Linked DNA regions of Homo sapiens: regions 1, 2, 3, 4, 6 and 7 are each linked to region 5. Evidence: promoter capture Hi-C in human tissues and cell types (Jung and others, 2019). All regions are on one chromosome and are shown on one strand. The core of a region is centred on a gene start or on the middle of the fragment in contact, and the rest is flanking DNA. Distances in the headings are between cores, read along the strand shown.

The links. Contacts are between HindIII fragments. The study calls those that stand out against the background at their distance.
Region 1: a fragment that was not itself captured here is called in contact with the fragment with the promoter of FOXG1 in region 5 in 1 of the 25 tissues and cell types used here (mesendoderm cells).
Region 2: a fragment that was not itself captured here is called in contact with the fragment with the promoter of FOXG1 in region 5 in 1 of the 25 tissues and cell types used here (dorsolateral prefrontal cortex).
Region 3: a contact is called between a fragment that was not itself captured here and the fragment with the promoter of FOXG1 in region 5, in 1 of the 25 tissues and cell types used here (dorsolateral prefrontal cortex).
Region 4: a contact is called between a fragment that was not itself captured here and the fragment with the promoter of FOXG1 in region 5, in 3 of the 25 tissues and cell types used here (dorsolateral prefrontal cortex, heart right ventricle and lymphoblastoid cells).
Region 6: a fragment that was not itself captured here is called in contact with the fragment with the promoter of FOXG1 in region 5 in 1 of the 25 tissues and cell types used here (lymphoblastoid cells).
Region 7: a contact is called between a fragment that was not itself captured here and the fragment with the promoter of FOXG1 in region 5, in 1 of the 25 tissues and cell types used here (dorsolateral prefrontal cortex).

What each region holds. Positions count from the first base shown.
Region 1 is chr14:29,932,438-29,935,938 of GRCh38, reverse strand. It overlaps LOC105370429 (a long non-coding RNA gene), which reads right to left. Exons shown (of 3, transcript XR_943703.2): 2 at 3,446-3,501; 3 at 1-148. Among named protein-coding and RNA genes, the nearest start is that of PRKD1, 6.3 kb to the right of the region's middle. The HindIII fragment of the contact is 5,901 bases long and covers 1-3,501 here.
Region 2 is chr14:30,024,855-30,028,540 of GRCh38, reverse strand. No RefSeq gene overlaps it. Among named protein-coding and RNA genes, the nearest start is that of PRKD1, 99 kb to the right of the region's middle. The HindIII fragment of the contact is 4,284 bases long and covers 1-3,487 here.
Region 3 is chr14:29,789,591-29,793,100 of GRCh38, reverse strand. All of the region lies in intron 1 of PRKD1 (protein kinase D1), which reads left to right. Among named protein-coding and RNA genes, the nearest start is that of PRKD1, 140 kb to the left of the region's middle. The HindIII fragment of the contact is 3,911 bases long and covers 2-3,510 here.
Region 4 is chr14:29,951,689-29,955,406 of GRCh38, reverse strand. No RefSeq gene overlaps it. Among named protein-coding and RNA genes, the nearest start is that of PRKD1, 26 kb to the right of the region's middle. The HindIII fragment of the contact is 4,705 bases long and covers 1-3,718 here.
Region 5 is chr14:28,764,444-28,768,036 of GRCh38, reverse strand. It overlaps FOXG1 (forkhead box G1), which reads right to left and starts at 1,250. Exons shown (of 1, transcript NM_005249.5): 1 at 1-1,250. The coding sequence starts at 757. FOXG1-AS1 (FOXG1 antisense RNA 1) reads left to right here and starts at 2,718. Exons shown (of 7, transcript NR_125758.1): 1 at 2,718-2,877. RefSeq lists an enhancer at 1,595-2,119. The HindIII fragment of the contact is 7,501 bases long and covers 1-1,801 here.
Region 6 is chr14:29,916,852-29,920,728 of GRCh38, reverse strand. All of the region lies in intron 1 of PRKD1 (protein kinase D1), which reads left to right. Among named protein-coding and RNA genes, the nearest start is that of PRKD1, 9.1 kb to the left of the region's middle. The HindIII fragment of the contact is 3,093 bases long and covers 1,006-3,877 here.
Region 7 is chr14:30,166,918-30,170,625 of GRCh38, reverse strand. No RefSeq gene overlaps it. Among named protein-coding and RNA genes, the nearest start is that of PRKD1, 240 kb to the right of the region's middle. The HindIII fragment of the contact is 3,678 bases long and covers 130-3,708 here.

The DNA.
Region 1 (3,501 bases), core at 464-2,963, 1.2 Mb before region 5:
GACCAAGACGTTCTGAGCATTGATAGAACTGCTGTTGCACAGACAAACCAACAAGCATTCAAATTCCATTATTGACACTTGTCGACTTTGACATTCAATCGGAGCAGCAAAGTGCAAAGGTTAGGGACCTTAGAATGTTCTTCTTCATCTAAAAGAGTAAGAAAAGTACATAGTCCTTTTCTTGAATACACTGTGAAACAAATCTAAAATGTTATGCTTTTTTCAGTTTTTGAGGACTTCAGTTTTCCTGGATACTCTAGATAACTGACTGATTAAACAAAACAAAATGTATTTATAAAAATACATATTATTATATTAATATGGAAAGACTTTATATAGTTAAAAAATATATATAAAATATTTAATTCATGAAGTAAATATTCTATTTATAGATATATGGAGCAGAGCTTTTTAGTTCAAATACATATGAGATCAAATAAGTAAATAATTAAATTTTTAAAAAGTAATGTAAGACAAAGAAGGTCAGTGTGCTTACAACATAAATAATTTTTAGGATTGTATGTTTGAGGATAAGAATTAGTAAAAAGAATGCAGATGATGATTAAATAAAATGTAATTTCAATTCCATGTAAATCATCTTATTTTAATTATGTAGACTTTTATCCTAGTGGAATATGTATATTATAGTAATAAGTGAATTTTAGAAATAATGCCATTTAAAATTTTTCTAAGCCAAGAAAAGCAAATTATTTTTTCTTAAGCTATTAAAAACTATTTTCCCCTGGTTATGTCACCAAGAAATAAATCTTCCAGATTCTTTCCCTTAAATATTTGTATTTTCCAAATCAAGCAACAGAAACCACACACAAGAAATTTCAGCTCAAAAATATTTTTTCCAGGAAGAAACCCAAAAAGTAACTTTGAATTAATTGTACCTCTATTCTGTTTTATTAACTTTTCAAAATTTAGTCATTGATTTTAGTAAAACATACTGAATGAAAAATGTAAAGTCTCATAAAATGACATGTATTAAAGAGAGTAAACTAGTTTATAGAATAATATCAACAAATGGGATATATTGATATTCATACTAGAAGATGTTTAGCTATGACACTCATCCAGTGAGAATGGAGGAAAGTTTGTATTTCTGGAACCAATGGGCCTTGAAAATAGGATTAGAAAAATTGCATCTTTATGAAAAACAAATGTGCTGCTGTTAATGGTTTCTGAATTTGAATGTTGGATTGACTTAGTAAAAGCCAATGTGCACAATTAGAGTTGGCAACTCTAAGCAATATAGCCTTCTGAGTATATTGAAGTTGAAGGAAAAAGTGTTAGACTGGTGATTTCATTCTGTTTTCTACAGGGAACCTGAGCAAATTTTATGATACCTTGGAGCCAGCAGATGTTAGTTCTTATGAGAATAGCAGAGTTTTTACTGTCTAGGATGGAATGATATTTAGGAAATCAAGTCTTACCAAAAAACATAACATAAAAATGTAAATGCAGGTAGGTATTTTGGATGTACATAAAAAGCATATGGTTAAAATCATCAACGTTTTGGACAAAAAATTTTGAAGTTTACTCATGCCTTTAAAAGTTAGAGAAATATAGCTTGAAGAAACCATTAGCAGCACTACTTTTTAAAACTTCTTTTAATAAAGATGTAATTCTTTTAATCCTATTTTCAAGGCCCATTGGTTCCACGGATACGAACTTTTCCTTCATTCTCCCTTCTTGTAACAACTTAAACACTGGTAGCTGGATTTATTCTTTCAGTCTGTTGATGAACATAAGCAGATAAAAATGTCCTCCAATAGTGAAGACAACCAAAATAGTTCAATTTTGGTTGAAATTCAGAAAAAACAAATATCTGTAATGTCCTCCTCCAATTTGAAGTTAGAAGAGCAAGTAATATAACAACATTTATTTTAGTTAACTCATGCCTGCTTTTAGGAACTACTTTTAATTCATAATTTTTCACGAACCATTTGTTTAAATAATCTGATTTAGAATGTTGCTGATTATTGATGCTAAACTCACTGGTCTACATTTTGAAATCTTTTTGAAAATCAAGACATTTGTTTCTCTCCAAGAATACTTTAAGATATTTGCAATACATCCATCAGTACAGTCTTGTGATTATTTGAATGCTCATCCCCTATTTAGATAATGTGTGACCATCTTTTCATTTATTTTGAGCTTCAGTTTTCTTTTAACCATTTTTTTACATCCTTTTATCTTGCTAGAGAAACCAAGCAAAATGGAGTTAGGCTTGTTTTCTCTGTTGTTTTAACATTATAGTAAGTAATGTGGCTGGCAGGAATGATGTTTGGACTAATATAGTTGATAATAGCTAGTATTTTGGGGTGATTAATAGCTAGTATTTGTGGCAGGCACTGTGTTATGTGCTTTTATATAAACTAAATCATTTAATGTTCACAACTCTTGAGTAGTGTAATTTTTTACTTTACCAATGAGGTGACTGTGGCTCCAGCCACAGTTAGTGGAGATGGTCAGGTAAGAAACCAGCCATCTCTCCTCTGAGCCACAACATTAATAAGTGGCAGATTTAGCATCAAAATTAGATCAGCCTTTTCCCCAGAGCTCATTCACATCCTACCACACTAAAGAATTTCAGATTTGTTAGCAATAGGAACTTTTATTTTCAAACAAATTTGTGGGACCCTGGTATATTAACAAATGAAAGGAGAGCTGCTTGGTTGAAAGTGAGGCAGGATGTCTAACTGTACCCATTAGGGCCTAGAGAGAACCCTAAGTCTTTCATAAGAAGTAGTTCATAAGCCCTTGTTCTATAACATAACATAAAATTCCCCAAGAGCATCGTTCATATATAACATGGAACTATTAAAGCTAATTGATTGTTTTTAGCTTATAATAATTTCTATTTACTCTTGTTCATATACCTATCTCTATTTTTGTTCATTTTCTTGGCCTGTTTGTACTTATCCAAAACTTGAGGTGTAGTCACACTGGTTTCTGCATTTATTCCTCACCTGGATCATTTATGATTTTATAGTTGAAAGCTTTTCTTCAAGGGCCTCCTGTCCTTTCAGGGTCTCTGACTCTAGGATCATACCTAGAAATTTGGTTTCTTTCTTTCTTTCTTTTTTTGTTTTTTTTGAGATGGAGTCTTGCTCTGTTGCCCAGGCTAGGGCATTGTCTTGGCTCACTGCAAACTCCGCCTCCTGGGTTCAAGTGATTCTCCTGCCTCAGCCTCCCAAGTAGCTGGGATTACTGGTGCCTGACACCACGCCCGGCTAATTTTTTGTATTTTTATTAGAGTCAGGGTTTCACCACGTTGGCCAGGTTGGTCTCAAACTCCTGACTTTGTGATCCACCTGCCTCCGCCTCCCAAAGTGCTAGGATTATAGGCATGAGCCACTGCGCCCGGCCGAAATTTGGTTTCTTAAAGAACAAATTAGTTTTTCTTCTTGGTGAAAAATTAGGTTAACAAGTTTACCTTCTTTCCTTTTATTGTCCATGAAATCATCAGCAAGATAAGGCAGCATTTTGTCA
Region 2 (3,686 bases), core at 96-2,595, 1.3 Mb before region 5:
AATCTAGGCAATACCATTTAGGATATAGGCACAGGCAAAGATTTCATGATGAAAACGACACAAGCAATTGCAACAAAGCAAAAATTGGCAAATGGGATCTAATTAAACCAAATAGCTTCTGCACAGCAAAAGAAGCTATCATCAGAGTGAGCAGACAACCTACAGGATGGGAGACAATTTTTGCAATCTATTCATCTGACAAAGGTCTAATATTTAGAGTCTACAAGGAACTTAAACAAATTTACAAGAACAAACAACCCCATTAAAATGTGGGTAAAGGATATGAACAGACACTTCTCAGAAGAAAACATTCAGGCAGCCAACAAACCTATGAAGAAAGCTCAACATCACTGATCATTAGAGAAATGCAAATCAAAACCACAATGAGGGCCGGGCGCGGTGGCTCATGCCTGTAATCCCAGCACTTTGGGATGCCAAGGTGATCGAATCACTTGAGGTCAAGAGTTTGAGACCAACCTGGCGAACATGGCAAAACTCCGTCTCTACTAAAAACACAAAAATTAGCCAGGCATTGTGGTGGGCACCTGTAATCCTAGCTACCCAGGAAGCTGAGGCTAGAGAATCACTTGAACACAGAAGGTGGAGACTGCAGTGAGCTGAGATCACACCACTACACTCCAGTGTGAGCAACAGAGTGAAACTCCATCTAAAAAAAAAAGCAAAAACAAAAACAAAAAAACACACACACAATGAGACACTGTCTCACACCCATCAGAATGGTGATTATTAAAAAGTCGAGAAACACCTGATGCTGGTGAGGTTGCAGAGAAAAAGCAACATTTTTACACTGTTGGTTGGATTGTAAATTAGTTCAACCATTGTGGAAAACAGTATGGAGATTACTCAAGGATCTAGAGGCAGAAATACCATTTAACCTAGCAATCCCATTACTGGGTATATACCCAAAGGAATATAAATCATTCTACTATAAAGGTAAATGTATGTGTATGTTAATTGCAGCACTGTTCACGACAGCAAAGACATAGAATCAACTCAAATGCCCATGAATGATAAACTGGATAAAGAAAATGTGGTACATACACACCATGGAATATTATGCAGCCATAAAAAGGAACAAGATCATATCCTTTGCAGAGACATGGATGGAGCTGGAAGTTTTTATCTTCAGCAAATGAACACAGGAACAGAAAACCATATACCACATGTTCTTACTTATAAGTGGGAGCTGAACGATGAGAACACATGGACACATGGTGGAGAATAACACACACTGGGGCCTACTGGGAGGTAGGGTGCAGGGAGGGAGAGCATCAGGAAGAATAGCTAATGGATGCTGGGCTTAATACCTAGGTGAGGGTTGATCTATGCAGCAAACCACCATGGCACACATTTACCTGTGAAACAAACCTGCATATGCTGCACATGTACCCTGGAACTTAAAAGTTGAAGGAAAAACAAAAAACAAAAACAAAAGAGAAATGTATCTTAATCCAGCTAAATATTAAATCACTTTAGAAGGTATCAGCAAAAGTTTGGTGTTTGAATATTGTATTAGGCCATTCTTGCATTCCTATAAAGAAATACTTGAGATTGGGTGATTTATAAAGAAAATAGGCTTAATTGGCTCATGGTTCTGCAGGCTCTACAGGAAGCATGGTACCAACATCTGCTAAGCTTCTGGGGAGGCCTCAGGAAATTAAGAATCATAGCAGAAGCTAGCAGGGGAAGCAGCTGCATCAGGAAGCAAAAGCAGGAGCAAGACAGAGTGTGTGGAGTGGGGAGGTGACACACACTTTTAAACAACCAGTCTCGTGTGAACTTGAAGTGAGAGCTCACTTATCACCAAGGAGATAGTCCAAGCCATTCATGAGGGATCATCCCCCATCATCCAAACACCTCCCACCCGGCCCCATCTTCAACACTGGAGAATACAATTCAACATGAGATTTGGGTGAGGACAAATATCCAAACTATATCAAATACGTTCAGTTAGGAGAAATGCAATGTAATTAATTAGACTCTCTTGAATTCTAATAGGATCCAAGGAACATAATTAGGCCTTTTCCTGACATTCAGGTGACATGGTCAGATGTAGGGTGGGTATATGCCATTCTGCATTTATTGTTATCCTTTCCACTGTTTTCTATGGAGTTATAAAGGATTCAGAGGGGAAGAGAAGCTATCCTTTTAGAACACTTAAGAGGAAGCCTTCTTTCTGGATTATTCTCACTTTTTTGGCTTAATTTCTTTATTTATTTTGAGAAAAGGTCTCACTCTGTTGTTCAAGCTGGAGTTCAGTGGCACAATCATGGCTCACTGCAGCCTCCACCCTCCAGGCTCAAGCGATCCTCCCACCTCAGCCTCCTGAGTAGCTGGGTCTAGAGGTGCATGCCACCATGCCCAGCTAATTTTTGTGTTTGTTGTTGTTGTTGTTGAGATGGGGTTTTGCCATGCTGCCTAGGCTGGTCTCGAGCTCCTGGGCTCAGGTGATCCACATGCCTCGGCCTCCCGAAGTGCTAAAATTATAGGTGTGAGCCATCATGCCTGGCCCCTTTTGCCTTTAAACAGTTATTTGCTGCTTAAATCTGTAGGACCAGTTTTTCATTGTGGAATCACCTCATCTCAAATTCCTGGATAGGCCTTGCTTTATTTTCACTCTCTAAAACTGACAATCAATTCAGTCCCACTCCTAGGAGGCAACTGAATAACAGTAGCACTTGCTGCTTATTATGTTTTAATCCTGACTTTATTTTAGGGGTAGTTCTACTAAAAATTCTGGATCTATATTCTTAGTTCTCAGCCTGAAAGTGCAGAGAAAACATCTAATTTACTTTTATAAAAATAACCCGCCAACCCATCTTGAGGAATGGGTTTATCTGATCTATTGATTTGATTGATTGATCACCAGTCATTTCCACACAGTAGGGGTTTGAGGGGATGGGAAACCAAAGAGGAAAATGTTGATGGGAGAAAGAAAGTGGAAAAAATTGGGAACGTGAGTTACTGCCAAAGCCCTCAAAATCTTATGTATGGTGAAAAGGGGTTGAAGATGATGGTGATGGTAGTGGTAGCTAGGGTGCAGCAGGATGTAATAAGGTGAGGGCTGTAAAAGTCTTCTGAAAGAAGGATAAGCCAAAGAAAACTCCTCATATTTTATGGTTTTCCCATGGGATGGCCTTATCAATAAAGTTTGATGATAATAATGGTGGTAGGCAGGTGAGTAAACGGTAATTGTAAGCTCAGGTGGGAGTTACAACACCTTTTGCCCCTCATGAAAAGGTTCTTGTGCTTTTTTTCCCTCTGTGAAGTCAGTAAAATTGACCTATTCAGGGCTTTTCTAACTTTAACAAGTGTGATTTAGTCACACTGTTCTGAATTCTTATTCCTTTCCATGCATCATACACCTCGTTGCGGCGAAGAAAAGAATGGAACAGTTAAATGGGAAAGGGTTTATCCTTAACTACTTCTTCTATTCTTCTCTCATCACCAAAAAACTACCTACTCCCCTGCCAAACACCAGGAACAAAATAAAGTGGATATATGCCTCTGGGCCTTTCTGGATACTAAGGGATGAATTGAACAAAGATGATTTTGTGTCTGTTATTTGCCTTTGTTTCTGGGTTTGTATGTTTGTTTATATGAACATTTTATTTTTCTCTCTGCAGTGAAAGTATCCTAAGAGCAGATATTAGAAGTGTCTACAT
Region 3 (3,510 bases), core at 708-3,207, 1.0 Mb before region 5:
CCACAAGAACTTTCTCCAATTTTGGCAGCACTAATAATCTGCAGATTGTCATTTTTTCATGATAGAGTGTGAAGTTTTTTCCAAAAATAATCTTATTTGTAGCTATCTCTATTTTGCCATTACATTTCCATGTATGCTTTTGAATGCATTTTATTTTGTGATCACATCCCTTTGATCCAGCAAACATTAGGGGAATGTTTGGCTTTTTAAAGCAATGGCCTCAAATTGGCAGCACTTTAACACTGGTTATTTTACTAAAATCTTGCTAAGTCAATTTGAATTATTTTTTCCGTCTAGTTTCCATAATGTTACTTACTTTCTTCACAAGTATTGCTATGCCCAGGTATTTGTGAGTTGCAAGTTTCCATATAGACAATGAAACTTGTCTTTTTGCCTGAGTTTTTCAACAATGCCATGTCTTGGCACTTAAGACATTTTAGAAATTTTCCTGACTGCCGCTGTCACTGAGATACAAAATTATTTCCTTCCCACTTTTGTTGACTTATTTATAATGGTCACCAAATTTTAGCATCCAGGGTGGAATTTCACAAGCACAAATTGTGCCAAGCTTTGGTCTTCGAAACTTTAAATAGTGAATACAATTATTCTCTATAAATATTTGTAACAACATTTGAGACAAGTTGATATGTGAAATGTTCACAGTGTTAACTAATGTTTGATAATAACACCAAAGCAGTATCTCATCCTCCCTACATCTACAGAATTATAGTATTAAAATTTGGACCTTCTGACCTTACATAAGATATTTCATTTTAACACAATTTCATATTCTAGTCTGTTCTTGAGATTAAAACTAACTTGTGTGCTAATTTTACTGTGACATAAATCTATAGAAAGGAAGTTCAATTATATATTAGCTAACATAATAATTTTGACTTTAAGTTTCATATTTTTATATTAGAACACGATTTTGTGTACTTTGAAGGAACTTTTAGTAATTTATTGCATTGGAGGGAAAATGCTGGCAGAGCTTCAGTTTTGTTGATCTATCACATGGGATTATATGTCATTTTTATAGAGTGAGAAATCAATTAAGTACACCTGAAAAATAGCTAAAATTAAAATGATTTACTGTACCCAATGTTGGTGAGTATCTGAAGGAACTGGAAGTTTCATACACTGCTGGTGAGAACATACAATACCACAATCACTTTGGAAAACAGTTCGGCAACTTTTAAGAAATATTAAACAAATACCTGTCATATATTCCAGCTATTCCAATCCTGAGTATGTACTTACTTAAGAGAAATTTACCATACCTTGGTGTGGTATATCTATCTATACTATGAATTATATACAAATGTCTATAATAGCTTTATTTGGAATAACTTAAAACTGAAAATAACTGACATGTGCATCAACAGATGGATGCACAAATTGTGGCATATCCATACAATAGGATATTATTTGGCAATAACAAGGGATGAAATACTGATATGTGCTACAACATGGGTGAATCTGAAAATAATTATGCTGAGTGAAAGACATTACACATAAAAAGAGTACATAATATTTTTAGAAAATTCTAGAAAGTGCAGTTTAATCTATGGTGAGGAAAAGCAGATCAGTGGTTGTCTGGAATTGACGGGTAGGAAACAGCTAAGGGAGAGAGTACGGAGGAATATGAGAGGTGATGCATTTGTTTCCTTGGGATGAAGGATATGTTCATTATCTGGTAATTTCAGTGTTACATTGATATGACAAAGTTTATCAAATTGCCTACTTTAAATATGTGTACTTTATGTCAACTTTACCTTGGTTAAGTAGTTTAAATAATTAAGGTAACACATATGAAAGCACCTATCATGTTGCTTGGGAATTGTAATGCATGTTATTACGTGGAAATGATAAAATGATGAGGTAGAGGGAAAATCAGAGACAGTTTCACTTTCCCTACAAGGAAAAAATGGTCAAACAATAGTTTTCTCTTTAGATGGGAAAATCTCTGTGTATATTTAAAGATTGGTTTATACACTGGTTCATATTTATTTTGTGTATGTATTTGTTGAAGTTTCCCCTACTGTCTTTTAGTCACCTGGTTTTCCACACATGTGAGTGAATACAATAGCAGACCATGGATTCTATAAGTGACTGGTAAGGCTAGGGCTCACTGAGGTCACCTAGACTGAAGAGGAGCTATGTTAGAACTTCATTTTACATGGTCTCACAGCATCCTGTACACCTCTGTAACACTTATGACTATCATAATCATGTAATGAATTACATAATTAGTAGATTAAGATCTACTCTTTAAAATGCAAGACTAACTTTTTTGTTGTTGTTCACCGGGCTTTGTGTATAGTTAAAGCTTACTACTGTTTGTTCTGTGAGTGAATGAATAAAATATCGTCATAATCTAATAGTTTTATGGTATGGGCAAGAAAGGCCCTGTGAAACAGTGATTCCAAGTTCTTTAGAAGGATGTATAGTTTAGAGATCATTATAAGCTTAAAAATTGAAGAAAACTTTACAGAAATATGAGCAATGAGATTAAAAACTAGCATAGACATTGGGAAATCATGATGTTGTAGATAGGTTAAGCCAAATTAAAAAATCCCGTGGGGCTGGCTAATTCCAGGGATTGTTAAACTCAGTCAATTGATTAATGCTTATATCAATAAGAGGGATCAACTCTTTCTTTATTCAAAAAGCAAAACTAAATAACTGGCAGTATTTATGGCACATGATCACTATGTTATTGAATAAATTATGAATCTTTTTTTTAGCTGGAATGATGAAATCTAAGTAATAATTAGACTGTGGGCGTGGTGGCTCACACTTGTAATCCCATAAACACTTATAAACACTTTGGGAGGCTGAGGCGGGCAGGTCACAAGGTCAAGAGATCGAGACCATCCTGGCCAAGGTGGTGAAACCTCATCTCTACTAAAAATACAAAAATTAGCTGGGCGTGGTGGCACGCACCTGTAGTCCAAGCTACTCAGGAGGCTCAGGCAGGAGAATCGCTTGAGCCCAGGAGGTGGAGGTTGCAGTGAGCTGAGATTGTGCCACTGCACTCCAGCCTGGCGACAGAGTGAGACTCCATCTCAAAAAAAAAAAAAAAAAAAAAAAGACAACTTGCTTGGTAATGCTTCTAACTAGTTTGCATCTTTATTATGAAATAAACAGTGAAAATGTGTTATCCAAGGGCCTGGGGATTGATCCACCTGGCTTGCTATCACTTGTGTCTGCATACACTATCAGGGAGCCTGAAGACAGGTCCACCTCACCTGCCATGGCTGACACTCATGTGTCATTTGGGTGCCTGGGAATTGACACACCTTACTCACTGGCACTACTGGCTGCACTTCCTGTCCGGGGGCCTGACAATATACCCACCCTTCTTGCTGCCACTGATATACATGCATGGTGTCTAGGGGTGTAAAGATGGGCCCATGTGCACTGGTGCTCATGTGCCTCCTGGGCACCCAGAGACTGGCCTGCCCAGCCTGCCACCATTGGCATTCACTTATAGGCACCACCTAGGTG
Region 4 (3,718 bases), core at 158-2,657, 1.2 Mb before region 5:
TTAGAACTTAAAGTATAATAATAAAAAATAAGAAAAAAATTACTATACGTAAACGTTTTGCACATAGGTCACTTCTGAGTCATTGTCTTGCATGAATGTTTCTGACTGATGAAACCATAGCCACATTTCCACAACCTAGCTACTAGACTCTCTAGGACATGTGGGAGTTTTTAAGATGAAATCAACCTTGAGAAAGTAGAATTTAGAGTGTGGCAAAATATAAAAATGCAAAGTGGTTGTTCAAAATGTATTTGACAGGCAAACATAAATGAGTGATGTCTCTCTCAGCCCAACTTTTAGCTGACAAAATCATTATATATTCTTCTACCATATTAAATTTACAAAAGCATAGCAACAATACTATGTTCCAACCTTGTATAATATAAATATCAGTTATAATTAAAACACGCTTACTGTTTTCCAAATTCTCTTCAGTTACTTTATGAAGCTTCAAGCCTGACATCTGGGTAATGTCCATTTCTCCTCTGATTTATTCACAATTTTTTCTGGATATTTTCTAACCTATGGAAAAATATAATAATTATTAGAAAAGGTAGGGCATGGGAAATGTTAATCTATAGACATTTACATGATCACCAAGAAAGAAAAAGCAGGTGTCTACAGGTGTTATGGTTGGAATGTTCCCTCAAAAACTTATGTTGAAATTTAATTGCCATTGTGACAGTATTAAGAGGTAGGACCTTTAAGAGGTAAGTATGTCATAAGGGCTCTGCCTTCATCAATAAATTAATACCATTATCCAAGGAGTGGGTTGGTTATGGGTTCCTCCTCAAGAATTCTCAGCCTACTCTTCATTCAAGAAACTCTGTGTTGTGAATTGACTCGGAGCCATGGCGTGGAGGCACAATCCTGGAGTCTGTTTTCTAGGCTTACTTGCTGCTGCTGTTGTTGTTTGTTTATTTGTTTTTGTATTACTTATACAGATCAAGTGGGACCTTAATGGTTACACAACGTTTTCAGACCCAGGGACCCCCTAATCAATCAGCAAGGCAAAGTGTGTGTCAAACCACTCAGATTATCACAACGTGGTTAAGTGCTGCTAATGAGGCTCATATTAATGGCAGCATCTCCCACCTTTGTTTTCATCCTGTAGGGAATAGATACTGCACACTTTTCAAAGATGCTTGTATCTGTTTTTTATGGCTTTTAGAAATCATGTATTTTCCTTTTTCTGGACCCATATTTAAAGTATTGCTTCCATATACATTATATTTCATTTGTACTGCTTTCGTACCTTAAAATGCTTTCTCACATATATTCCTGCAGGTAGTTGCTAATATAACTTGGCAAAACATTGCTTTTCTTTTCCTTTGGTGGGTAAGCCTTTTCTTCCTGGGTTTAATTTTGCCCTAGCTTCTTGGAGCATTCTGGACTCTGACACTAGCTATGGGTCCAAGGCATTGCAAGGTGTCAGGAATGGGTTGTGAAGAAAGTTATACCACCTCCTGAGGTAACTGCCTCAGGCAACGTGCTTACATGGTTTTCAGGGAAGCAGGAACAACCGATTAAACCCTGGAGAAAAAGCTATTTCTTCTACTAAGGGATGTTTAGTAAATTTGAGTGTTCAAAGTACTCTGAGTTTTCAGGGTTTTCCCATCTGTCTCGATTACAATTCCATGGAAGTGTCTTAACTTTCAGTAAGAGTCATGGTACCGTTAGAATTCATCTGACGTAATTGAGAAACCACAGCATTAGACTGTGCATTTAATTTTCAGTTTCATCAGTCCTGCAGAGAGGAGAGCTAATTTTAGGGTAATCATGTTATCGCCCTGGCTTTTTTACTACATTGAGCTGAGAATTTAAAACTTTAAGGTGTTCTTTCCTTTCTTTCAAAGCTTAAGCACATTTAGAAGTAGCCAAGTCACCCTATAGCTCTTACGTGCTTCATGTCCATTGTACTTTTGTAAGCATAAACTCCCCTACTTCCTTGCCTTCTATAGTAACATTATTCCAGGTGACCAAGAGCACAGATGATAAATATAAGCAAGTGTTTCATTTTAGTATGCCATGGGTACCAGTGCTCTTTTCTCTAGAACGAATTGTATTCTCAGAGCTTTCAAATCCAACCTTCCAGATAATGAATCCCAGATACTCATTTCCTTGAAGGTTCCTTGCACTTTTAATACAAATTATTCTATTAAACAACCTTAGTTGCAAGGAAACCCATTCATTCCACCCAGATTAAGCAGAATAGATATTTATTAAAGATACTAGATAGCATGTATACTCATTGATTGTGCTAGGGTAATAAACAGGGTAAGCTCACCAGAACAATACCCATAGTCTATTGCCAATTTCTGAATTGCTTCGAAAACAGTCCCAAGGGAGAAGCTACCTGTGACACTGCCAACTCCACAGCCACCAGAAAAAAAAATGTGTGCTCTGCCAGAGCTTTTCCCTACTTGATCACTTCCAAATTGAAGACATAATGTAGGTGGAAATGATTATTGGAAACTGGTCCCTGCCTGTAATTCTGGGCACAAGAAAAGCTGGGAAATGCAGTTTTAAAATTGTATCTTGAGAAAACAGAATTTATCTTGTGGTAAATACAAAAATTCAGGTGGGTTTTCAAAAGATGTGCAGCCAAAAATGACAAATGTATACTACATATGGCTATTGTGTTTAAAATATTTCATAAAACTTGTGGAAATATTTTAATAATTATATCTGCCTTTATCTCATATATTTGTAACATAGAAATGGTTCTTAAATAAGTGGTATCATACTTTTAGCAAGGTAACCATAAGTATAATTTTACTAAGAAACATCTAGAGTCAAGATGTAATATTGTAAACAATATCCCTACAAGTACAGAGTCTACAGACATAATTGACATTTGATTATATCACTCTTATCTTTCAGACTTTATATTTGAAGGAAACTTCTAGGTGGCAACTGAATCAACAAATTCATCATTATTATTTTCAATCTGTTTGTATGAGTTATCAATTTAAGATGTACAGTTCTTCATTAAAATATAAATAGAGGATGTGTGTATTTTTTGAGCATGGCTTATTTGATCATATTTATAAGGAATTCAACATGACTGGAAAATCTACACATTCCACAGAGACTATATCTGTATGTGTGTGCACACACATATGCATATATTTTTTTAATATATATTGTTCATAAATGGAGAAAGCTGAACATAGCAGTCCTTTTATTCATTAGAACATAACAGGGCTGGGTGCAGTGGCTCACGCCTGTACTCCCAGCACTTTGGGAGGCTGAGGTGGGAGGATCACTTGAGGTCAGGAGTTCGAGACCAGCTTGGCCAATATGGCAAAAACCTGTCTCTACTAAAAATACAAAAACTAGTTGGGCATGATGGCGCACACCTGTAATCCCAGCTACTCGGTAGGCTGAGGCAGGAAAATTGCTTGAACCTGGGAGGCAGAGGTTGCAGTGAGCCGAGATTGCACCACTGCACTCCAGCTTGGGCAACAGAGTGAGACTCCATCTCAAAAAAAAAAAAGTTTTTTTTGACATTATTATTATGTCAAATAATTAATGTCAAAAAAACTTTACAAGAAACCTTAAGGGCTGGGCGCGGTGGTTCATACCTGTAATCCCAGCACTTTGGGAGGCTGAAGCAGGCGGATCACGAGGTCAGGAGATCAAGACCATCCTGGCTAACACGGTGAAACCTGTCTCTACTAAAAGTAGAAAAAAATTAGCCGGGCGTGGTGGCAGG
Region 5 (3,593 bases), core at 1-2,500:
TGCCCTTGCCCGGGTCGTCGTAGTGGCGCGGCACCTTCACGAAGCACTTGTTGAGGGACAGATTGTGGCGGATGGAGTTCTGCCAGCCCTGCTTGTTCTCGCGGTAGTAAGGGAAGTTCTTCATGATGAACTCGTAGATGCCGTTGAGCGTGAGCCGCTTCTCGGGGCTCTGCCGGATGGCCATCATGATGAGCGCGTTGTAGCTGAACGGCGGCTTCTCGTACTTGCCGTTCTTCTTCTCGCCCTCCTTGCCCCCCTCCCCGTCCTTGCCGCCCTCGCCCGCCCCCTTCTTCTCCTCCCCCCCGGCGCCGGCGCCCTTCTCCTTCTCGTCCGGCCCGACGGGCGCCAGCTCCCCCGGCCCGCCGCCCGGCTCGCCCTTGCCGCCCAGCCCGTCCGCTTTAGCCCCGTCCAGGGCGGCGGCCGGTGGTGGCGGTGGCGGCGGCGGGAGCAGCAGCTGCTGGGGGCCCTTGTCGTCGTCGGCGGCCGGGGCGCCCCGCGTCTGGGGGGGCTGCGGTGCCGGGGGCGGCGGCGGCGGCGGCTGCTGCTGCTGCGGCGGCGGCGGCGGTTGCGGGGCGGGCGGCGGCGGGTGGTGGTGATGGTGGTGGTGGTGGTGGTGGTGCTGGGGGTGGTGGCTGTTGTGGTGGCCGTGGCTCGCGTGGTGGTTGTCGTTCTGGACCGCCTCGGGCACCAGGCTGTTGATGCTGAACGAGGACTTGGGGATCATTTTCACCTCTTTCCTATCTCCCATGTCCAGCATCACCCAGTCGTCGGGGGGAAACGGCGGCGGCGGCGCGGGAGCGGGACAGCGGCGCGGCGGGCGGCGGCGACCGGTGGGTGCCGAACGGGGCGCGGGGGGCGCGGGCGGCAGCGGCGGCACTGAGCGCTCCGGCAGCAGCGCAGTTGGACCGCAGGCTCGGGCGCTGGCAAGTCATGTAGCAAAAGCAGCAACCACCCCTCAGGAATTAGAAAAAAAAAAAAAAAGGAAAAGAAAAAAGAAAGAAAGAAAAAAGAAACAACCACCGCCCCGGGGGTGAAGCTCCCTCGCTCCCAACTGTACTTCTTGGTCTCCCCCCCCACCCCCCGCTCCCCCCCCCGCTGCTTCCTCCTCCTCCTCCTCCTCTCGCAGCAGCAGTCACAGCAGCAGCAGCAGCAGCCCAAAGGGGGGGAGAGCCGGGCGGCGGGCGGGCGCGTCCCGGAGCGGCCGCGGCGAGGCTGGGGAGACAGCGATCGAGGCGGCTATAGCCACAATTAATTTTCCGAGCTACAGGCGCACACTAGGGCTGTAAAAAAATTTTTGGTTTAACCTTTCCTACCGCTGGGCCAATCAGAGCTGGCGGCGTGCGGGAGCGTCTCTCTCGCCGTCGACCAATCGGAGGGGCCGGGCCCACCCACCCCCGCCCCGCCCGCCGGCTGCCGCCCCCTCGGGCGCTCGCCTCCCCCTCTCCGCGGGCCTCGGACCCCGAGGCCGCGCGGAGCCGCGTAGGGATACGCCGGCGGGAGCACGCGGTGCCGCAGCCCTTCCCTGCGCCCCCGCCACCCCCTCCACCCCGCCGGCTCCGCTCCACCGAAATTCCCCTCCTAGGGCCAATAGCTCACATTTCCGGCTTCCTCCTCATTGTACTGGGTCATTTTCGTTTAAGCGTCAATATTTGTCCTTAGTGATTAAAGTTTGTATCCAATTTTATTTTTGAAAGCGGGGGTGGTGGTGGTAGTGGGAAGAGTGGGAGTGCAGGGAGAGGATGCGAGAGGGCAGGAAATGGAGGAGGTAGAGGCGAGGCACTACTTTTCCGAGTCGGCCTTGCAGGCCAGTGTCTGGCATTTCTGAGCCAGCAGGAAAATTGTGCCCTTTGTAGGTAATAGTCTAGCGCAGCTTTGGATAAGGGGGGAGATAAGGCCCACCGCTGGCGTGTGTGCGGGGGTGTCCTTTACTTCGGGGGAGGAGGGTGTGGGAGAGCTTTGGGAGCGATGAGATGAGGAGGAGGAAGTGGGCAGAGGAGCGCGGGGCCAAACAGGGGTTACTTACTCGATTCCTGAGGCCTGGGCGGCGGCGAGCTCCGGGCTCCGGCACCGCGGGGAAACCGGGACTGGGGCTCCGGGTGCTGCTGCGGCGGCCGGGGCCGCTCAGTAGTGGGCGCCTCTGATGGCCTTCCGAAATGAGAGGTGCCCAGAGAGAAAACAGTACCAAACAATCTCGAAATAAATCAGGTAACACATGCTATATACGTGTGTCTCTTCCTTTTCCTTCTCTCCTGCTCCAGAGCGTCGCTCACGCGCGGGGTGACTCGATGTCGTTTTCTCCTCGCCGCTCCAGCCTCAGCTTCTAATCCGAATTGGAAGCGGGTAGCTGCGAGCGATCACCCTGGAAATATTTTCGTTTTGCTTGTTGACATTGGAGGGAAAATAAGGGTGGGCGTCTATTTCTTTCCGGTTTTTTTTTTAAGCCTTCCTATTTTCACTCCTTTTTTTTCCTTTCCGTTTCTCAAATGCTTTTATTTTGTGCGGGCCTCATTCCTGAAATAACAGTATACTGAAGCCAGCTCTTGCCAACCCTGAGTGCTGCTGGAAAGCACCGGGGAGCCTTGGGAACGTGGATCTCACAGTCCCAGCTTCTTGGGCTTTGGAACTGGGAAGGTTCGGTTGGAGGTTGAAGTGAATGGGGAAATTGCGAATCGGGGGCTTTAAAAGGATCCCGTGGCCAGGGGCAGGGCTAAGGCCCAGCATTTCCCAGGGATTGGAATTTAGTGGGGAGCACATTGATCAAAGGCTGTTTCATCCCACATGGGCACGAAACATACCACATTTTACGGAGGATGTAGCCCCAGAGAAGAGGGAGGTGGAGAAGCATAAATGAAAGGCACCTTTTCCTTCCTCTAGAAGGTAAATAATTATAAAATGTAAGCATTTCTTCACTTGGATAAACTTTCATTAAGATATCTGGCAGATTTGGTATTTAAGAAAACGAAGGAAGGAAAATTGGTGCTTATGCTTGATCCTAAAGTTAAATTGTAACATAAAGAATGCGGTTGATGAATACTCAGGATAATAGGGGGTTATTCCATCCTCCCCACCCCCAGTCTTAAGAAAGAGAAAGAGAGAAAAGGTTGGGGGGGGGGGAGGAAACTGGAGAGAATAATAGATAATTACAAATAGCTAGTGAATTTTAAATATGCATCTATTAGGAATGCCACAAAGGAGCTTTGAATATTGGACTAACCTCAAATGTCCTTCCACTGTATGTATGTATCTTTACCTATGTCTACATATCTTCTCACTTTAAAACAAACTGTATTTACATGTGGAAAAATTCAAGGGTTCCAACAATCAGTGTTGATAGTGACATGGTCCCAAACATTTATTTCCAAGCTCTGGATTTCTCGCAGGGCCGGGTGAGCTAATGGGCTTTGCCTACCGGCTGGAGAGATTTGTGGGCCTTCCCCTTCCTACTCACTTTTCCTCCTCCCACTCTTCTCCCCTCTTCAGGCCCGTTCTTCCTACTTTTCCTCAACTCTCCTTCCTCCCTCCTCCCTCCTTCTCCCTTAGCTCCCCCCGCCCCTTCCCCCCACCCTCCATTCCTCTGTCTCTCCATTCCTCCA
Region 6 (3,877 bases), core at 1,303-3,802, 1.2 Mb before region 5:
CATGGAAGTCCATGCCCCATTATAAAACCTTTAGAAAACCACAATCTTTAATTATTTATAAATCTTTTAAAGAAGAGTGTAATGGATAATTATATGAAACTTTGTGTGTGTGTGTGTGTGTGTGTGTGTGTGTGTGTGTGTATTAGACTGGAATCATTGAATAAGCTCTCAAACTATACCAAATAACTAGTATAATGATCAATATTGCAGGGCTGGACTCAGACTGTTAGAACTTGGTAGAATGCAGTCTTATAGGTGTTGATGGTAACATGAAGTTTCCTTCCTTGCTTTGTTTTTATATTTGTTTGCTTTGATTTATGTATCAGGGTAATCTTTGACCTCTGACCTTGCGCCATCACCTTGTTTAAGGTGAAAAATCTAAACCCAAATGTGGCAATAGAGGTAAAAATATAGGGTGTTTTTTAATAATAAAAGATACTACTCATCTTTTAATTTCCCCAGCATTACTTTAGAGTGATTTTGAAAATGAGACTTCAATTTCTTAAATCTTTCCTTATTGTTGGAATATGTTGGAACAAAACAAGACAAGTGCTTCCTTCCTTCCTTGTTTCCTTCCTTCCTTTTCTTTTCTTCTCTCTTTTCTTTTCTTTCTCCCCTTTCTTCCTTTTCTCTTTTCTTTTCTCCTTCCTTCCTTCCTTCTTTCCTTCCTTCCTTCCTTCCTTCCTTCCTTCCTTCCTTCCTTCCTTCCTTCCCTCCTTCCTTCCTACCTTCCTTCCTCTCTTTCTCTCTCTCTCTCTCTCTTTCTCAGGGTCTCACTTTAGTCACTCAGGCTGGAGTGCAGTGGCACCGTCTGAGCTCACTGCAGCCTCAACTTCCCAAGCTCAGGTGATTCTCCCACCTCAGCCTCCCGAGTAGCTGAGACTACAGATATGTGCCACCACGCCTGGATGATTTTCTGTATTTTTAGTAGAGACAGAGTTTTGCCATGTTGCCAGGATGGTCTTGAACTCCTGTGCTCAAGTGATGACCCACCTGCTTCGGCCTTCCAAAGTGCTAGGATTATAGGTATGAGCCACTGCGCTCAGCCTCATTTCCCTCTTTCTATTGATAGAATTTAGATACAAAGAAAATGGTGATTTTCCTTACAACTATTCAAAACATTTTTTAATCTATAAGAATATGAGATATTTCCCACAGGAATTCTTTTAATACTGTCAACCAAATATTTTTGTGCCATTAAAAACCAGTTGTGATAGCACCACTTGAAGTTATTTGGCAGCAGAGAAATTCACGTTGTTCTGTTTCTTACTTTTTCTGGTCTCATCTAGAAAAACAGATCATTAAATATACAGAGTGTTCAATTATATGGCCACTATGGCTGTTATGGAATATCATATAATTTAAATAGTTAAGAACTGGTACAAAAACAATGCATATTCAGACAAATTTCGGCTGTCTAAATCTACAGTTTCCTGTGTAGAAGTTTCTTCCAAAGTTATGAAAGGTTTTATTTGGCTTAAGCCAGACAATTGATATAGTAGCTTAGCAATGTTGGCAAACATGAAACTTAGATTTTAAAATATGCAATCACACAGGAATTTTGTTCAACTTATTTTGGTGAAAAGGAAAAAAATATACACCCTTCACTAGTTCATTGGCATCTATTCTGACTAAACCACTGATTGATGAGGAACTAGTGAATGTATTGCTTGTTTTTAGGCACAATTTCAGGAATTTCTGAATGCTTCTCTCCTTAATTGTCAGCAGCCACTTTTCCCCGCATATATTATAAAACAGTTGAAAAGTATTAATTTAGTAATGAAAATATGAATGAAAAGTATGAATGTGCATAATATATGGTGTTGTTGATAATTAGTTTGATTTTTTCCTACACTCAGTGTTCTTACAGTTAGGTGATTCTCTCAACCTGAGCAATTGCTCAGTGTAGGGTGAAAAGATTAAAGAGATTGCTTATTTGCAGTTATGTAAATATCCACAGTAATCATGAACATTTTTATTTTTCAGTTTGTTTGATTCCATAGCAATTCTGGTTAGGAGTGGCATGTTATACAGGCTTTTGCAAAAGTATTGACATTATTTCACACAATGTCTTGTACAGTCAGAGAGATTGGGGAGGAGAGGACTGAAGGGGCAGTTAAAAACTAGAAATAAAGAGTCAAGTGGTAAATTGAAAAGGCCAGAAAAGTGGAACATTAGATTAAAGGGTCACCACTTGTGTTACGGCAAGTATTTCAGCTACTGTGAGCAGGTGAACATTGAGATCTAATGGTTAGCACCATCTGAAAATATATTCAGAAGCTTCCTAATCAAATTGTACATATGGTACATATTTTTGGTGTCATTGGGGTCATAATAAGTGTTTTTCTTTTACATTTTTGTAAATTACTATTTGATATTTTCATAGTTCTGACTGTTTGAATTACCTGTCTCACGTTGAGTTCCCTTTGTAACACTGCAGGTGATCCTACAAGATTCTTTCTCCCTCCCCAGCATTATTAAGGTATAATTTACTAATAAAAATTATATATACTATGATATATAATGTTTTGGTACATGTATACATTGTGCAGTGATTAAATCAAGCTAATTAACATGTCCATCATCTCACAGACTTATCTTTTCTTGTGTGTGTGGTGAGAACATTTAAAATCTACAATCAGGCAATATATTTCCTGCTTTGAAAAAATCAATTTTGGGGTACTAGGCTTAGTACCTGGGTGACAAAATAATCTGTACAGCCCCCCCATGACACAAGTTTACCTATGTAACAAAACCGTACATGTACCCCAGAAACTAAAATAAAAGTTAAAAAAATCTATTTTTTACTTAAAAAATTATCTACAGGTATGTAGATTTGCTATAATCATACTCTTCAGTTCATAGCACATTTTTTTCATCAGTCCAAGTAAGGATCCTATTGCGTTATGTTTTATTTTGTTTCATTATTTATTTTCAACCAGGCATTGGAAGAACTGTGGTATAGGTATGAAGTATTGTATCTTGACAGTTGAAGCTTGTTTCAGTATACAAAGTTTTTCACAAGGTAATAGATGGTTAAGATAAAATTAAAAGGGTATTCAGCATTTTAAATAAAGAGCTGTATCTCTTTTCTTTTTCGTAAACAATAGAATAAAAAGAATCTGAATATAATTAAATTCTAACTTGATATGTCACAAACAGAAACGTATTTCTACATCAACTAAAATAATTTGTTCAAATATGAAATCCATGTATCATTACATGAGCCTGCTGTTTTTTTTGTAAATGGTTTAAGTTGACTTTTGACTAGGAATTTTTGCTTGAAATTTATTCACCGACATTTATGTTGATGTAAATTTCAAACTTTCTTAAGAATCAAAGCACTTTTCATTAATTATTAAGATTAATCTGTTAGGTTAAAGTGTTAATAAAAGTTTTTAAACTGTCAGTTTTGGCCATACCAAAAATACAGAGCCTTTTCCTAGGTTGTCTAAATCCATCATATTAATGACATAATAATTACAGGATGATTATGGAACTATTTCTTTGTTTTGGGTGAATGACTAGCTAGAAAGAGACTGGGGATTCAGTTCTAGTTCAGGTGCTAGAATTAAGTTCCAGAGACTTGATTGAATTAGGCCATTTATCAATAGTCAAATGTTTATTAAAGACACTCTTTCTTAAGCTTTTTATCAATTAAACATGAACATTTCCCCCCCTCCCTTCTAACTCCTCACATTGTTCAGAAATGGTGGTAGGCTTGTGTTCTGGTAGGGCCTCTTGGGTTAGACCAGGGAGTTCTTATCATTACAAAAAGTGGCTATGTCCTTTTCAGAGTGTTAGGAGATCATGGTTAGAATTTAGGGAGGAACACACTTAAGGGAGCATTTGGCAGAGGGACTAGGATGAGTTCGAA
Region 7 (3,708 bases), core at 719-3,218, 1.4 Mb before region 5:
ACTCCATTTCTCTATTTCCTGACCAACTTGGCATCTTTGCTCTTCTCTGACTGGGAGATTGGTTACAGTACAACCCCTGTAAACCAACATATACACATACTAAAGTGCCACAGCTGGCCCTGTGGGACCCAAGTATATAGGAAAAGTTGACCTTCCATATGTGTGAATTTCTATCCGTGAATACTGTATTTTTGATCAGAGTCTGGCTGAAAAGAAATCCGAGTGTAAGGGGACCATGCAGTTTAAACCACTGTTGTTTAAGGGCCAACTGTGTGTTCTTTCCAAGCGTTGTGATATGGTTTGCATGTTTGTCCCTGCCTAAATTGCGTGTTGAATTATAACCCCCAATGCTGAAGGTGGGGCCTGGTGAGAGGTGTTTGGATCATAGGGGCAGATCCCTCATGGTTTGGTGCCATTCTTGCAATAGAGAGTACTCACAAGATTTGGTTGTTTAAGTGTGTGGCATCTCCTCCCACTCTCTTGCTCTTGCTCCCATTATTGCCATATGATGTTCCTCCTCCCCCTTTCCCTTACACCATGATTGGAAGCTTCCTGAGGCCTCACTAGGCAAATGTCACTATGCTTCCTGTACAACCTGTAGAACTGTGAGCCAATTAACCTTTTTTCTTTTTTTATTTTTATTTTATTTTTTTAATTTAAGTTTTAGGGTACATGTGCACAACGTGCAGGTTAGTTACATATGTATACATGTTCCATGTTGGGGAATTGAACAATGAGAACCTTTTTTCTTATAAACTATGCAGTCTCAGGTATTTATAGCAGTGCAAGAATAGCCTAACACAGAAAACTGGTACTGAAGAGAAGGGTGCTGCTATAAAGATACTTGAACATGTGAAAGCAACTGGGTAATGGGCAGAGGTTGACAGAGTTTGGAGGGATCAGTAGAAAGGAGGAAGAGGGAAAGTTTGGAATTTCTTAGAGACTGATTAAATGGTTATGACCAAAATACCAATAGTGATATGGACAGTGAAGGCAAGTCTGACAAAGTCTCAGATGGAAATGAGGAACTTATTGTGTATTGGAGTAAAGGTTATGCATGTTATGTCTTAGCAAAGAGCTTGACTGGATTGTGTTCAAGTCCTAGGGATCTGTGGAAGTTTGAACTTGAGAGTGATGACCTAGGATGTCTGGCAGAAGAAATTTCTAAGTAGCAAATTGTTCAAGTGTGTCGTGACTGCTTCTAACAGCCTACAGTCAGATGAAGGAGCAAAGAAATGATTTAAAGTTGGAACTTTTATCTGAAAGAGAAGCAAAGCATAAAAATTTGGAAAACTTGCAGGCTGGCCATGTGGCAGAGAAAGAAAATGGTTTTTGGGGAGAGGAATTCAAGCAGTCTGTGGAGCAACCAGTTGCTAGAGAAATTTGTATAACTAAAAAGAAGCCAAGTGCTGCTAGCTAAGACAATGGAAAATAGGCCTCGGAGGCATTTCTGAGATCTCCCAGGCAGCACTTCCCATTACAGACACAGAGGTCAAGGAGGGAAGAATGGTTTCATGGGCCAGACCCAGGGCTCTGCTGTCCTATGCCGCTTCAGGACACTTCTACCCACATCCAAGCCATTCTGGCTCCAGCCTCAGCTCAAAGGAGCTCAGATACAGCCAAGGCTGCCACTTTGGAGAATAGAAGCCATAAGCCTTGATGGCTTCCACATGGTGTTAAGCTTGTAGGTGCACAGAATGCAAAAATGAAGAATGCTTAGCAACCTAGGTTTCAGAAGATGTTTGAGAAAGCCTGGGTGCTCAGGCAGAAGGCTACTGCATGGGTGGAGCCTTCACAGAGAACCTATACTAGGGCAATGCCAAGGGAAAATGTGGGGCTGGAGCCCCCACAGAGTCCCCAATGGGACACTGCCTACTGGAGCTGTGAGAAGGGGGCCATCATCCTCCAGTCCTCAGAATGGTAGATCCACCAGCAGCTGCACCCTGCATCCAGAAAAGCCACAAGCATTAAACTCCAACCCATAAGAGCAGCCCTGGAGGCTGAACCCTGCAAAGCCACAGGGCAGAGCTGCCCAAGGCCTTAGGAGCCTACCCCTTGCACCAATGTGTCTTAGATGTGGGACATGGAGTCAAAGGAGATTATTTTGGAGCTTTAAATTTTAATGATTGTTCTGTTGGAATTTGAATGTGCATGGGGCCTGTAGCCCCTTTCTTTTGGCCAATTCCTCCCTTTTGGAATGGCAATGTTTATGCAATGTTCATACCTTCATTGTATCTTGGAAGTAAATAACTTGTTTTTATTTTATAGGCACATAGGTAGAAGAGACTTGCCTTGTCTCAGATGAGATTTTGGACGTTTGAATTAACACTGGAATGAGTTAAGACTTTCGGGGACTGTCAGGAAGGCATGATTGTATTTTGCAATGTGAGAAGAATATGTAATTTGAGAGGGACTAGGGACAGAATGATATAGTTTGGATCTGTATCCCCACCCAAATCATATGTTGAATTGTAATCCCCAATATTGGAGGTAGGGCCTGGTGGAAGGTGTTTTGATCATGGGAGTGGATGCCTCATGGCTTGGTGTTGTCTTTACAATAGGGAGTTAGTTCTCATGCGATCTGGTTGTTTAAAAGTGTGTGGCATCTGCCCCTCCACCTCTCTCCTTCTTCCTCCTGCTTTCACCATGTGATGTGCCTTCTCCCTCTTCACCTTCTGCAGTGATTGTAAGCTTTATGAGACATCCCCAGAAGTTGAGCAGATGCCAGCACCATACTGCCTGTAAAGCCTACAGAACTGTGACCCAATTAAACCTCTTTTCTTTATAAATTACCCAGTCTCAGGTTTTTCTTTATATCAATGCAAGAACAGCCTAATACACATTGTTTCTGGAAAAACCTTAAGCCTCTTTCCTTTACAGACTTAGACTTTTGCTTCTCAAGCAATTCTTTAAAAAATTCTTCAAAATATAGAAATATAAGTAATTGTTTCTGCTATCGATTTTATAAAAATTAGAAACTAAAAATCTGAGCTTTTACTTTTCATTTCAGCCATACTGGATGGTGGACATCTCTGACTCAATGGGCTGAGTGAGGAAAAGGTTATAGGGTAGTGGTATCTACAAAAATTTATCAGGCTGCAGGACTAGAATTTGAACACTGGCATAGTGACCTCAAAGGCTTCATATAACCACTATGTTATGTGCCCCTCAAGAGTTTATCCTTGTTTAAATAAATCCACTTTTCTCTCAATCAAAAAAAAGAAAGGAAAAATTTTTGGTTATTGAATCCCTCTAATGTGTGTTTGTGAAGTGGGGGGCATTAGATTTAGATGTAGTTACATATTTCTGTATTACTAGAAAAAAAATGGGTTCCTATGCAAAGCCAATTGCTAATTTTAGCCCTCTCTAAGAGTGGATTGAAAATGGGTCCTTGGCCTACTCTTTCTTCTCTGAAGGCATGGATAAAAGATTTTCCCTAATTATTAATACTGTGGGATCAATCAGATTTAAAGTATTTGAATACAGAAGGAAATAAATTAAGACAAAATTCTAGGGTGGTATTTCAGCTTACTTGTTAGAGTTCTAAATGACTCTAAATTTGTTGATCACTATTGGAAGCTTCATGATTCTTCCTATTTCTCAAGAGTGTCATACTGCGTAGAAACCATGTTGACTTACTGATTCATACCCTAAAGGCCCCAAAGAGTTAATTAACAGCTTCTAGAGGTGTGCGTCTTATTAATTAAA